Regions from separate parts of the Homo sapiens genome. Here all the other regions are linked to region 3. The links are contacts of gene promoters, found by promoter capture Hi-C in blood cells and fetal thymus (Javierre and others, 2016). All regions are on one chromosome and are shown on one strand. Each heading gives the region's core, a stretch centred on a gene start or on the middle of the fragment in contact. The rest is flanking DNA. Distances are from core to core; before and after follow the strand shown.

Region 1 (3,454 bases), core at 856-3,355, 360 kb before region 3:
GCTTGAGTTCCCAGGAGAGGATCCCTGCTCTTCTTATTAATGCCCCTTTAAGATACAGGTGTTTTAGTACCTCATGGCATCCAGAGAAGCATGTTCCTTTTCTGAGCACGTCAGCACATCTCTTTACCCCTACAGAGGGGACAGATTACAGAACTGACATTGTATCCCACAAGAAAAAACTAGGGCAGCAGGAACAGGATGCGCATGACTCAGGGAGAGACTGGACCTCCGTGCATCCCAGCTTACATGTTCCCAGTCACACAGCCTAGAGGGGTAGAGGGACAGCCACGATGTGGAATAAACAGTAAGACCCCGACCTGAGGAAGCAGTGGACCCAAGGAGGCTTTGGGGTGAGGCGGTTGATTGTACAACCTGTTCCCTATGCTCTTCTCAGCATCAGAAACACAGATTCTTTCAAGCTTAATTCTAAAGAGTCTTTAGACCTTTCTACTACGAGAGTTTGTAATCTAAGCCACTAATTTTCATTCTGGAGTTTGTGACACTCTAGTGAGCCCCACATTATCATAAGTGAATATTTTTAAAATTCGGCAATAGAATTCATTGTAGTTTGGCATACATTTTTATTTTATTTTATTTTATTTTATTTTATTTATTTTTTGAGACAGAGTCTCACTTTGTCACCCAGGCTGGAGTGCAGTGGCGCAATCTCAGCTCACTGCAACCTTCACCTCCCGGGCTCAAGCGATTCTCCTGCCTCAGCCTCCTAAGTAGCTGGGAGTACAGGTGCGTGCCACCACACCCGGCTAATTTTTGTATTTTTAGTAGAGATAAAGTTTCACCGTGTTGGTCAGGCTGGTCTCAAACTCCTGACCTCGTGATCCACCCACCTCAGCCTCCCAAAGTGCTGGGATTACAGGTATGAGCCACCGCACCTGGCCCTTGGGCATAAATTGTAACATAAGTGTATGTTCTTCGACACATTTAAGAGTGGAGTGATGGTGTCATAAAATTAAATAATGGGATGTTCTAAGTCCCTTAAGCTGGACCTTTCCAATCTGTGCATCAAAGCTAATTCTGCATTAAAGTGCAAGGACGGCTCACAAACCCCATAGTTGCCTGATATAGATTGGCAGGTGCATTCTCTTGGTTTCGTTTTTATTCCTGCTGAAATGTTTAATGATCTTGTGTGGCGTCATTCTGTTGCCGATTGTGTAAGAGAGAAGCTGGACCTGGGTGGAGACAGGCTTCTTAGGTGGCCTCAGTGGGCTGTTGGGCATTTATGGTTCTGCTGGTTGCAGCTGAGATCTTCAGACAGAATACTCTTCTCCTTGACCAGCGCTTATCTTTCAGATTGTGAACTAGGCCCAGACACCATTACCATTCACCATCTCTAACATTCTCTTATTCTTTGACTACATAAGGCACTGTCGTTCTAGGGGAAACATGATAGAGGAAGGAAGTTGGTTGCAGAAACCATTCTTTGAAAGACTTTTTTTTTTTTTTTAACTTAGTCAATTAAAATAGTCCTTTAAGGTGAACTTAGTTCTGAGTTTCTGGTCCTTTTCCCAGATGGAAAAGGATTTTCAAGAAAAAATCCTGTCACTTACTGAGCATGTGTGCCGGCTCCTTTTTGGCACTTCCATCCTCACCACAACCCTATAAAGGAGGGAGCTCGTGGCGAGGCAGCCCAGGTTTCTAGATAAGGAGAGTCTCGAGGAGGTTCCTTAACCTTCCTGTGGTGGTTTTTCTCCATTTTTAAAATGAAGAAACAGAGGCCAAGAGAGGTTAGGGAATTTGCTCAAGGTCGTGCAGCCAGTGGCAGCTGTTCTCACTCGGAGTTCTGAGAGAGGTAAGCCTCAGAAGCCGGGCATCCATTGTGTGTAACGTAGTAACGTCTTGCCTGTGCATCTAGAAAGGTACCTGTTATGTTCCGTTCATAGGAGAATTGAGAAAATATTAATAGTCACTTCATTTTAAGAACTCCAGTTGAAAAAGGCTAGACAGTCAATGTTTGTTCATTGTTTTTCTCCATTCTTCCCCAGCATGCGCGCTCTCTCATGCACACGCACGCATGCGCACGTGGCTGAGCCAAAGCCTAAGCTGCGAATTGAGTTTCGTTAATTCATGTGGAGGCAGCTGAGAGTGCCACCTGGTCCTGAAGAAATTGGGATACTTGTGGGCACAAAGGTGGACCTGAGATCACTGGAGCCAAGCTGGTGGAAGTGTTGACCACTGCCGTTGGCAGAGAGCTGTCATTACTGGTGCTTCAGGCCACAGCTCAGCAGGCTGTCCTTGTTCTGTTTTGTTAAGAGCCTAGCAGCATGGCTAGCTTGCAGGCATAATCCCAGAGCCTCTTGCTATCTGCCTGCAGGAAGTCTCTATGTGCTCCAGCACACTGAAGGAATTTGGTGCTCACTTTCTCCTGCTTTTGAGCTTTGGTCCTGTGTTATTACTAATCCTTAGAGGAAGATTTTGACTGTAACCACTTTCCTGAGTGCTCTTAAGGCAGGTCCAGAGGATTCTCACAGCGTGAAATGAGAAAACGCTCAGCCTCAGAAAAATGGAAGTTATTCTTTTAGTGCCAAAGTGTCATTGGACCACAGTGCAGCTTGGTTAATTCAGGTTAAGACTTAGCCCCTGGAACAGTGTCAAGCCAAGGCCTGTGTGGTTTCATCATAGATTTGTAAAACAAAAAACACGTGTGTTCTGGTAAATTCCAAGCGCACATTAGTGCATACGTGTATGTGCAGGAACACTCCCTGTAAGACTCTTGTTCTCATTTCACACTGGCGCGTCCCCGGGGCTGGGGAAATCATTTTCATTTTTGAGAGTAACCTTAACTAATTAAATGGATCAAGGGACTCTTTGTGTTTTGTTTTCATTTTGTTTTGTTTTTTACTTTAATGTACAGATAAATTAAGGGAAATAATAATTACCTTGAATAATTTTGATTCTCGTAACTAATTTTCCACCTATGTGTGTTTAGCTCAATTTTGAAATGGTTCACTGAAAGATTTCCAAATTTCTTATCACTGAAACTGAGTTATTTCACTTTTATGACTGTTAGTGACTCCTCTGTTTTATGTATTTCTGGTGCAGTATAATTCTTCTATGTCTGTGTGTCTGTGATAGATCTCAGTTCAAGTTAGCGTTTCCCGAGCACCCATCTTGTGTCAGGCACTCTGCTAATGATTGCGCAGGTTACAAGGTTTAGAGTGGCCACATCCCCTGTTCACTTGCAGTTTAGAGTCCAGTCGGAGGAAAGGGAGGAGGGGAATCATGTTATAGACATAACTTGATATCCTGCAGGACTCAGTGATGTATGAGCCACAAAAAGGTCACAGCTGAGTGAGAGAGTTGGTAATCATGGAAACAGGCGCATCGGAAACTCGCTTCCTATGGGTCAGTAAAGTGTGTATGAGGTGGTGTGGATGACAGCACATAGAGCTGGAGGGGTGGGCCAGCAGCAACCAGGAGAAGGCGTTCCAGGTGT
Region 2 (3,278 bases), core at 709-3,208, 260 kb before region 3:
TCTAAAGATAAAATATCATTATAATAGTTTCTTTTCTTTTCTTTTCTTTTTTTTTTTTTTTGAGACAGGGTCTTACTCACTCTGTCACCCAGGCTGGAGTGCTGTGGTGTGATCTCAGCTCACTGGAACCTCTGCTTTCCAGGCTTAAGTGATCCTCTCATCTCAGCCTCCTGAGTAGCTGGGACTACAGGCACGCACCACCATGCCTGGATAATTTTTGTGTTTTATTGTAGAGACTGGGTTTTGCCATGTTGCTAAGGCTGGTCTTGATCTCCCGAGCTCGAGCAATCCTGCTTCGGGCTCCCGAAGTGCTGGGATTACAGGCATGAGTCACTGCGCCCAGCCTATAATAGTTTCAAAGAAAATAAAAAACAGAGTAGGCTGGGCCCAGTGGGCTCACACCTGTTATCCCAACACTTCATGAGGTGGAGGCAGATGGATGGCCTGAGGCCAGGAGTTCGAAAGCAGCCTGGCCAACATGGTGTAACCCTGTCTCTACTAAAAATACAAAAATCAGCCTGGTGTGGTGGTGCACGCCTGTAATCCCAGCTACTCAGGAGGCTGAGGCAGGAGAATCACTTGAACCCAGGAGGCGGAGTTTTTAGTGAGCCGAGATCACGCCACTGCACTCCAGCCTGGGCGACAGAGTGAGACTATGTCTCAAAAGAAAAAAACAAAAACCAAACAAACCAAAAAACATATAATAAATCTGAGAAAATATTTTTAAAGATTTCTACATAGAAAACTACAAAACATTGAGATTAATTAAAGTAGGTCTAAATCAATGTTTATAGTTTGAATACTCAATTTTATAAAGATGCCAGTTCTTCCCAAATTGATCTACAGATTCAACTTGATCCCAATACAAAACTCAATAAGACTGAGTGTCTGGGTAAGTTGAAAAACAGATTTTTCAAGATCACGCCATTGCACTCCAGCCTGGGCGGCAAGAGTGAAACTCCATCTCAAAAAAAAAAAAAAAAGAAAAACAGATTTAATAACGTACATGGAAATGCAAAGATCTAAGAATATCCAAGATCATCATGGAGAGAAGAGGTCAGAGTTGGAGGACTCACTCTCTCAGATATTGAGACGTCTGAATTGTTTCTACTCTTTTGCTATTACACACAGTGATGTACTAAACTGCTTTTGTATATATCTTTTGAGCATTTTTGCAATGTATCTTTGGGATAGAGTCTTAAGAGCGTGCTTCAGCATCTTGTCATATGGTTAAAAGTCATCGCATTTTTATTTTGTAAATGATGGGTTCATATCTCTGGTGCATTCTTCTATGGAGATATTCCCCATTTTTTTTAGGCGCTCTTTGTATATTAGGTACTAAGTTGAAGCCTATGAAATTGCCATTTTGTTAGGTCAAAAATGGTCAAATATCAGCAATTTCAAATGGCTTAACCTAAAATATAGATACTTTTGTAAATGTTTTTCTCGCTTTGTTTTTTTACTTAGCATGTTTTTTTTTGAGACAGAGCCTCACTCTATCGCCCAGGCTGGAGTGCAGTGGCAAAATCTCGGCTCACTGCAACCTCCGCCTCCTGGGTTCAAGGAATCTTCCTGCCTCAGCTTGCCGAGTAGCTGGGACTACAGGCGCACACTGCCACGCACAGCTAATTTTTGTATTTTTAGTAGACATGCGGTTTCACCATGTTGGCCAGGCTGGTCTTGAACTCCTGACCTCAGGTGATCACCCATCTCGGCCTTTCAGAGTGCTGAGATTACACGTAAGAGCCACCACGCCCGGCCAAATTTTATATTTTTATGTAAACGTATTTATCAATCTTTTTCCTTGTTGTTTCTGGAAATTGAGTCATAGGAAAGTTTCTTTATTTGTAGGTTATACAGTAATTTCTCCATGTTTTCCTTATTTTACATCTAAATATGTGATCCATTTGGACTTTATTCTGTTGTATGGTATAAGAATGGGCTCAATGCGTCCAGGTGCGGCGGCTCACATCTGTAATTCCAGCACTTTGGGAGGCCGAGTCGGACGGATCACGAGGTCAAGAGATCGAGACCATTCTGGCCAACATGGTGAAACCCCATCTCTACTAAAAATACAAAAATTAGCTGGGTGTGGTGGCGGGCGCCTGTAACCCTGGTTACTCCGGAGGCTGAGGCAGGAGAATAGCTTGAACCTGGGAGGCAGAGGTTGTAGTGAGCCAATATCGCACCACTGCACTCCAGCCTGGCAACAGAGTGAGACGCCGTCTCAAAAAAAAAAAAAAAGAATGGACTCAATTTTGTATTTCTTTGTAGCCTTCTGGGTATCTTAATACCATGTATTAAAATTTTCCCACTGGTTTGAGATGTCAACTTAATTGTATATTGAATTTCTATGTTCAGTTGGGTCTATTTCTGGATTTCCTATTCTGTTTGATTTGTGTGTCCATATATGCACATATCAATACCATACTGGGGTTTTTTGTTTGTTGTTGTTTTGAGACAGCGTCTCCTTCTGTTGCCCAGGCTGGAGTGCAGTGGCACGATCAGGGCTCACTGAAGCCTCCATCTCCCAGGCTAAAGCAATCCTCCCACCTCAGCTTCCCAAGTAGCTGGGACTACAGACATGCACCACCACTCCTTGCTAATTTTTTTTAAATTTTAGTAGAGACAAGGACTCACTATGTTGCCTAGAATGATCTTGAACTTCTGAGCTCAAGTGATCCTCCTACCTCGGCCTCCCAAAGTGCTGAGATTGGAGGCATGAGCCACGTGCCCAGCCCATATAGATTTCACTACAGAGGCGCTATAGTGGGCTAGCCAACCCCCAAGTATTTCATTTGTTTTTTGGGATGGAATTTTCCTGACAATTCTTTGCTCTTTACTTCTTCTAAAGGACTTTTATGATCAACTTGTCCAGTTGCAGAAAAAACAATTTGATATTCTTGTTGGGACTGTGCTATCATTAACAGGGAGCATTACACTTTCTATTTCTTCTCTAGTTAGTTTTGACAAGTTTAAATTTTTTCTATGATTTTACCCATTTAACCTACGTTTTCATGTTTACTGGCCTAAAGTTTTTATCATCTTCTCTTACTATAAATATTTTACATTTTTGCTGACTTTGTACTTTTGTCTTTTTCTCATTCTTAGTCTTATTTATGTTTTTATAAATAATCTTTTTTCTTTGAGCAATCTTTCCAGAGGGTTGTCCATTTTCTTTGAATTTTCAAAGGAGTAAACTTTTGTCCTCTCTTGTATGTCTGTTTTCTATTTTGTGTTGGGTATTTAACTCACTCGTTTTTATTTTTAAATTTTTA
Region 3 (3,279 bases), core at 631-3,130:
CTCTGCAATTAGTTGTGACTCATTTCCATCATCCTAAAATAATACTAAATGAATGGCTGTAAGAAGATAGGTTAACTGAATTGTTGACAAATGGCATAGGCATGAAAATGACCCAACAGCCCCTTGTAAGCCAGAAGAGCCATCAGAAAGGAAGCCAGATTTCTCTCTGCAAAACGTTCGTTTGTTTTGCAAGTGAGAGAGGGCAAAGATACTTCAGATTCTTTTTCTTTTTTTTTTCCTTTTCGTGCTTAAGGCCTTGAATTCAAAATTAGGCCTTTGAATTAAATTAAAAAGAATGTAAGTAAATAATAGTGGGGGAAAGGCAAATCATTTCATGGGGTGTAGAGTTAATAGTTAACCTGATAATAAGGCCAGAATCTCATTCCATATGTTAAACTACCCCAATTAGCTAGTGATCAGTGTCTAACTATCAGGCATTATTGCTGAAGTGCAAGCAGGGGCTCCAGGAGGCTAGAGGTCAGCGACAGGTCTCTGGGCTCTCCCAACAGAGGACCAGCCAGGGAATTTGTTCTAGTTAAAACTAGAGGGTTTCCGTCTGTTTGCTTTTTTTCTGACTTTAGTCACTCTTGGTTTGTTATCATTTGTATTATTTATTTTACGGTTAAACTATAAGCCTAAGTTGCATCACTGGCGCCCCGAGAAACCTCCTCCCACAGGCCCGCTGGGGCTTTGTCCTTGGGCATCCGTGGCCTCTCCAAAGCCAAAAGACGTCGGGGCCAGCTCAGGTCGCCTGAGTAAACACAAACCTGGGAAGCCGAGGGCCCCCTAAGTCAGTAGTGAGGGAGCTCCTCCTGGAAACCCACAGCGACCCTGAAGGGCTCAACCTCGAGCAGGACCTTTCCTCCATATTCCAACGCAGTCAGAGGAGCCCTGGGTTCCCCCCGCGTAGCCTCACCGCCCCACGCCGGCCCACTCTGTCCCCTCATCCTCCCTTGCTGTCCTACTCTGTCCCTCGCCATCCCTCACAGTCCCACACTGTCCCTCACCGCCCCTCACAGTACCTCACCGTCCACTGTCCCACACTGTCCCTTGACATCCTTCATTGTCCCTCACCGCCCCTCACAGTGCCTCACTGTCCACTGTCCCATACTGTCCCACACTGTCCCTTGCCATCCTTCACTGTCCGAGTCCCTCACAGTCCCAAAGTCCCTCACTGTCCCACAGTCCCTCACCGTCCCACACTGTCCCTCACTGTCCTACACAGTCCCTCACTGTCCCTCATCGTCCCGCACTGTCCCTCACCGTCCCACACCGTCTCTCATCGTCCCGCACTGTCCCACACAGTCGCTCACCGGTCCACACGGTCCCTCATCATCCCACACTATCCTTCACTGCCCCACACAGTCCCTAAGTGTCCCTCACTGTCCCTCCCACGCCGCAAGCCCAGTCGAGAGCGGCTCCCCTCTCCCCCTCCAGGGCTTCTTCGGCCCACACGGCCAGCGGCGGCCCGCGGAGAGGAAAAAACACACAATCTTGCCCGGAGCCTGAATTTATGGGAAATCCCGCGCGAAGCGCGATGTGCCCTCAGTTCGGGCAGGAACAGCGGCCGAGGCCCGGGTCGCCGCGGGCTTCTGAGGAAAGCTCGGCGTTGAGAGGCTCCCAGGGCTGCCGCACGGCTCAGGCAGAGGAGCGGAGCTGCGGCCGCGGTCAGCCCGGAGACGCCTCTCCGGGAGACAAAGCCGGCTCCCTGCAGCGCCGCGATACGCCACGGTGGGCCCGGCGCAACGCCTCGGCCACGGCATCGCCCCTTTAAGCGGCGCGCGCCCTGATTGGCTGCGGGAGGAGGCGGGGCGGGACGCGGCGACCTCACGGCCCGGCGGCCTATGCTATATATAGAGGCGGCGGCGGCAGCCGCGGCGACGGCGGTCCGGTGCGAGGCAGAGTGCTAGCGGGAGCGCGAGCCAGCAAGAGGCGCCTGCGCGATGTCCGGGCCCCTGAGCCCGCGGCGCTGAGCCAGCCGGGACGGACATGCGCGGGAGGGCGCCGCGGGGCAGCCGCCGCTCCTCCGGGGTAAGGGGCCTGGCGCGCTGAGGGGGTGGGGAGGGCCACGCAGCGCTCCGTTCCCTCAGGGGGCCCCGCGCCGGGCGCCGGGATCCAGGCGGCTCCCCGACGCGAGGGCGGGGGCGTGGAGGGCGCGGGGAGGGTCGCCGCGACGCGGAGTCTCTGGGATGGAGGGAGAGGCCGGCCGGTCGCTCGCGGGCTTCTCCCCATTGAGGTGTGGAGAGCGGGACCCTCCCCGGCGGCGCAGCCCGGGCCTGGGGACGCCGCGAAGTGCCGGCGCCCGCCGCCTTCTCCACGCCGGCTGTGGTCGTCGCGCGGCCCCTCGGCTGGCCGGGGCCATGCACCCGAGCGCCCGGGATACGTCCCCGCAGCACCGGGACCGCAGGAGCGGACGGGGGTTCGGGAGCGGCGAGCATGAAGGTCCTCGTCCCGCAGCCTGCGCTCGCGGGGTTGCCCGGCGGGGATGAGCGTCTTCGGGCCTGGGGGCTTGTTTGATTTTTTTTTTATTTGTAAAAAGGGGGTTGCGTTGTCTTGTTCACACCGTGTACCCGTAAATCCTGTCTTGAAAGCTGGGGTGGGAGGCTCGGCGATTGCTTGCGGTGGTTGGTACCGGTTCTCTGGCGGTCAGCCCCGCTCCCTCTGCCTAATCTCACAGCGACGATGGTAATGCCGAAATCAGTATTTAAAAATTCGTCTAAGCTGTTCTGAACTCTTCCTTCTCTCCTAGAAACGTGATTCTTTGCTCTGAGTGTCTTAAGTACGGCTTTGAATGGAATCGGACTGCAAAATTATGTGTTCAAGACGTGAATGCTTATTGGGAATTTTGTGTGTGTATTTATATGTATATCATAGCCCTGTACAAATTAGATGACTCTTTAACCGTGAATGGTGCTGTATTAGTGCTTGCTAAGTCTTTATTAGGATTTCATCATTGCTTGAAAGAAACCAGTCTCTTACCTGATAAAAATATGAATAGATGGTTAGTCATAAACTTAAGTCAGAATGGAGACTGTAGCTTTAAAAGAGATGTGTCGGTGACTTGAGGTACACCTGCAACACAGGTAGGGCAAGACTGGTTTCTAGGCAACTGTCAGGGGTGAAGAAAGGTGAGGTTAAAATGCCCTTTTTTTCCCTTCCAGAACAAATGTTCAACCTTTTATAAATGTGTAAGAATGCAGTGGGTACACACATTTGTTGAGACTGAACATCCCAAGTTCACCGTACCTATTTTTTTAACTGCATTTCTTTTCTTATATT
Region 4 (3,351 bases), core at 644-3,143, 340 kb before region 3:
CCCTGGTTCCTCACCACCTGGGCAGTTTGCTTTGGTTGGTTGGTTGTTTCTGGGGGAGTCTAACTGGCCGGGCATTTCCTTCTCACACCTGTGTGATTTCACTGGCATTACTGTAAAGAAAGCATCGTTGTGTTCACACACATGCACAGACTCACGTGCACACACAGCTAGAATGTAAGCTCCTCGTGGGCAGGAATCTTCTCTCCTTTTCGTCCATTGTGGATGATGTGTACCTCCCATGTGTACAACAGCGGTGGGGTCTGACATAGCAGACACCCAACAAGTACTTGTTCTTGGTGTCTGGAAGTCAAGCTGTGCTGGGCTGAGGAGGCGGGCCCCATTCATGCAGTCCACGGGCAGCTCAGTGGCTGTTTCTTGGGCAAGCCCAGTTCCTCTCCCAACTCCAGGAGCGACTGGTCTTTATTCTCATCTCTGGCACAGCTGTTAAACACCCAGCTTTCCACTGTGGCAGAGAGGGTGCGTGGGGCACGGAAAAGCCCCAGGCCCTCCCCCACAGTCAGCCCTTCTCTTCTGCAGGGGGAGCTGATCACCTTCTATTACTATTGGAAGAAGACCCCCGAAGCAGCCAGCTCCCGAGCCCATCGTAGGCACCGCAGGCAGGCCGTGTTCAGGAGGATTAAGACTCGCACCGCGTCCACACCCGTCAACACACCCTCCAGACCCCCGTCCAGTGAATTCTGTGAGTAGGGGTCTTGGCATCACAGTGGGCGGAGGGGAGACTGTTCACGGGCAGCCTGTCCCACTCTGGGCCCGTAGGAGCTGATGGCTCCGGGAAGCATGAGGGGGTGTGCACCCGTGCTCCAGTGCATGTGTGAAGCCTGACCTAAACATAGACCGATGGTGGGGGCGGGGAGCAGGACAAGGATTCAGGAGGGAGACTTTAAAACATTATTTGTACATTTAAATATTTCTCATAAACTCAACATCATCTTAGGTTTTTACAAAAAATACACGTCTTGGCCTGGGATGTTTTTGGCCTTGTCCTGGGAAGGTTTTCCATTTGACAGATGATGTACTTGATGTCCTGCTTGAATTCTCATTGCACTTTTGGTTGTAAGAAGATCAGATTAACACTTTCTTCTTTTTCCTCCTGCTTCACCAAGATCCTCTTTTTGGTCCCAGTATGATGTACAATCTAATGATGCTGGAGCCCACACCTTCTCACCCCTAAAAAACTGGGGTGTAGCAAAAGTGCCTTATAGCTCTGTCCTGGCCCGGGACGCTGAACCTGAGGGGCGCCGGTGTTGCGCATGCAGGCGACTAGAAATCACCTAGCAGGACGGGTTGGGGGCGCTCGGTGAAGTTGGAATTTCTCAGGATTGCCTGGGCGTATTAGGGAGGGAGGCAGCATGGACGCGCTTGTCCCAGTTCAGACTCACCCGTTACGGGCATCAGTGGCAGGGCAGGCCCTTGGGTATGGCGCCTCACACACAGGCCCTCTGTCCTGGTGACTGACACTGAGGAGCTCGAAGTGGTCCTTTGCAGACACTGTCCTACCTCAGCCTGTGCACCCAGCCGCTCTGACTGGTGGCCAGAACCTGCAGTAGGCCAGAGGTCACAGGTGTTCCCCCCTCCCCCCCACCCCACCGGCCCAGCCTTGGCTGAGCATGATGGTGTCTCCCCCACCCCCACTATGTGCCTGCCACGCCCAGTGGACCTAAGTTCAGCCAGTGAAGATGACTTCGACAGTGAGGACAGTGAGCAGGAGCTGAAGGGGTACGCCTGCCGCCACTGCTTCACCACCAGTAAGTGGCCTCGTCACGCTCCTGGGGCGGGGCGGGGGCACAAGCACTTCCATGTTCTGAACATTTCATGCATCCAGCTGGAAACCTGCCAGGGACAGTACTTGATTTGACATTTGCATTGTGCTTCGGGATTCGAGAAAGTTAGAAATGTTTAGTTTACTTTACTCCTCTGCTTGGCAGTCGGTATGGAATACTGACTGGTAGGCAGGACAGATTGAGTGGGATTGGGGGGTTGACACTGTAGTTCCCAGGAGCTTGCTGCCAGCTTTTCCTGGGCACCCCAAGTTGAAGTGGGCAGCAGATGCCCCTGAAACCCTCTCCTGGCCTTGGGGGAGCAGGGCAGCACTAGCCCTGGGGTGTTGGGGCCCAGGGCTGCATGGTGCTGGTGGCATCAGGTTTGGGTAGAGCCCACAGAAGGGCCCCTCTGCCCAGACATCCCCAGGGAGAGGGATGGTTTCCAAGGTTGGCCCCCACCACTTCCCTCACACAGCCTCCAAAGATTGGCACCACGGAGGCCGGGAGAACATCCTGCTTTGCACCGACTGTCGCATCCACTTCAAGAAATACGGTGAGCTCCCGCCCATTGAGAAGCCCGTGGACCCGCCACCGTTTATGTTCAAACCCGTCAAGGAAGAGGATGATGGGCTCAGTGGGAAGCATAGCATGAGGACACGGCGGAGTCGGGGCTCGGTGAGTCCCCTGGGGCCATGGGGCTCCTGGCAACTTCTTCAGTTTCCTGGGATGTGTGGGGGCTTGAGCCTCCCAGGGGGAGGAAGCGAAAGTCTTGTTTACCAGACAAAGTCCTGGAGGGGAGCTGCTTTGCCCGAGGCGGTAGCTTGCCTGTGGGCTGGGAAGAGTTCTCTGTTCTCTCCTTCGAGGGGCCCCAGGGTGGCATCCTGCTCTGGGTTTTGTAGCAAGCTCTTAGCTTCTGGCTCAGTGCAGGCTCTCCAAGGCCCCTCTTGCTCTCCAAGGCTGCTGCTTGTGGTGTCACTTCCATTGTATCAAATCTCTGCTATTTTAAACTTGCAGGCTCTTTTGTGTTAGTGTGTTTGTGATTTTTTTTAAATGTTTGATCCCGTTTTGGAAACTTCCGATACATTTTTCTGCTCACTGCATAGCTCCTCCCATAAAGAGACTTTGTTTCCTAGGTTGGAAATGTGCCAGGGACTTTGGGAGAGGCTTTTTCCAGGTTTGGGGCTGAGGGTACTGACAGGGTCTTTCCCTTCAGCCTCCCTTATGGCCCCTTCTGGCAGGTGGGTGGGACCATCCACTTTCCTCTGCCCCTTGTATGCCGTTGAGGCTGCTGGCAGCCCGGCCCCCGCTCACTCAGAAGGGAGCAGGTCAACCAGCCAGAACCATTGTCTCCTGATCTCTTCTGAGCCCTCATGGCTTTGCAGAAACATGCTGAAGCGCTTGGCGGCTTGGGGAGCTGAGCTGCTTTACTTGACAGCTTCATCTCTTTGGGTCACTTCCTGTCCTGTCAGATTAAATCCACAAGTGTTTGATTTCATTTGGTTTGGTTGGGAGAATGGACGGTTATGAGGAATAAACAGAAAGGGTGTAGGGTGCTTTAAAGATGGCCCCA

Evidence for each region. Contacts are between HindIII fragments. The CHiCAGO score rates a contact against its expected background, and 5 or more counts as called.
Region 1: a fragment that was not itself captured here is called in contact with the fragment with the promoter of ERRFI1 in region 3 in 1 of 17 cell types (M1 macrophages); the score reaches 5.2 in M1 macrophages.
Region 2: a fragment that was not itself captured here is called in contact with the fragment with the promoter of ERRFI1 in region 3 in 3 of 17 cell types (M1 macrophages, M0 macrophages and total CD4 T cells); the score reaches 6.4 in M1 macrophages.
Region 4: a contact is called between a fragment that was not itself captured here and the fragment with the promoter of ERRFI1 in region 3, in 12 of 17 cell types (naive CD4 T cells, total CD4 T cells, activated CD4 T cells and 9 more). The highest score is 10.4, in naive CD4 T cells.

What each region holds. Positions count from the first base shown.
Region 1 is chr1:8,381,024-8,384,477 of GRCh38, reverse strand. The region is part of intron 12 of RERE (arginine-glutamic acid dipeptide repeats); the gene reads left to right. Among named protein-coding and RNA genes, the nearest start is that of RERE-AS1, 42 kb to the left of the region's middle. The HindIII fragment of the contact is 3,368 bases long and covers 422-3,454 here.
Region 2 is chr1:8,285,968-8,289,245 of GRCh38, reverse strand. All of the region lies in intron 1 of LINC03154 (long intergenic non-protein coding RNA 3154), which reads right to left. Among named protein-coding and RNA genes, the nearest start is that of LINC03154, 28 kb to the right of the region's middle. RefSeq lists an enhancer at 420-920. The HindIII fragment of the contact is 9,150 bases long and covers 1-3,278 here.
Region 3 is chr1:8,024,910-8,028,188 of GRCh38, reverse strand. ERRFI1 (ERBB receptor feedback inhibitor 1) reads left to right here and starts at 1,880. Exons shown (of 4, transcript NM_018948.4): 1 at 1,880-2,031. It overlaps ERRFI1-DT (ERRFI1 divergent transcript), which reads right to left and starts at 1,696. Exons shown (of 3, transcript NR_185980.1): 1 at 768-1,696. RefSeq lists silencers at 1,795-1,844, 1,965-2,064. The HindIII fragment of the contact is 13,168 bases long and covers 1-3,279 here.
Region 4 is chr1:8,363,161-8,366,511 of GRCh38, reverse strand. RERE (arginine-glutamic acid dipeptide repeats) reads left to right here. Exons shown (of 23, transcript NM_001042681.2): 13 at 538-700; 14 at 1,674-1,766; 15 at 2,257-2,456. Among named protein-coding and RNA genes, the nearest start is that of SLC45A1, 47 kb to the right of the region's middle. RefSeq lists an enhancer at 881-1,851. The HindIII fragment of the contact is 4,320 bases long and covers 1-3,351 here.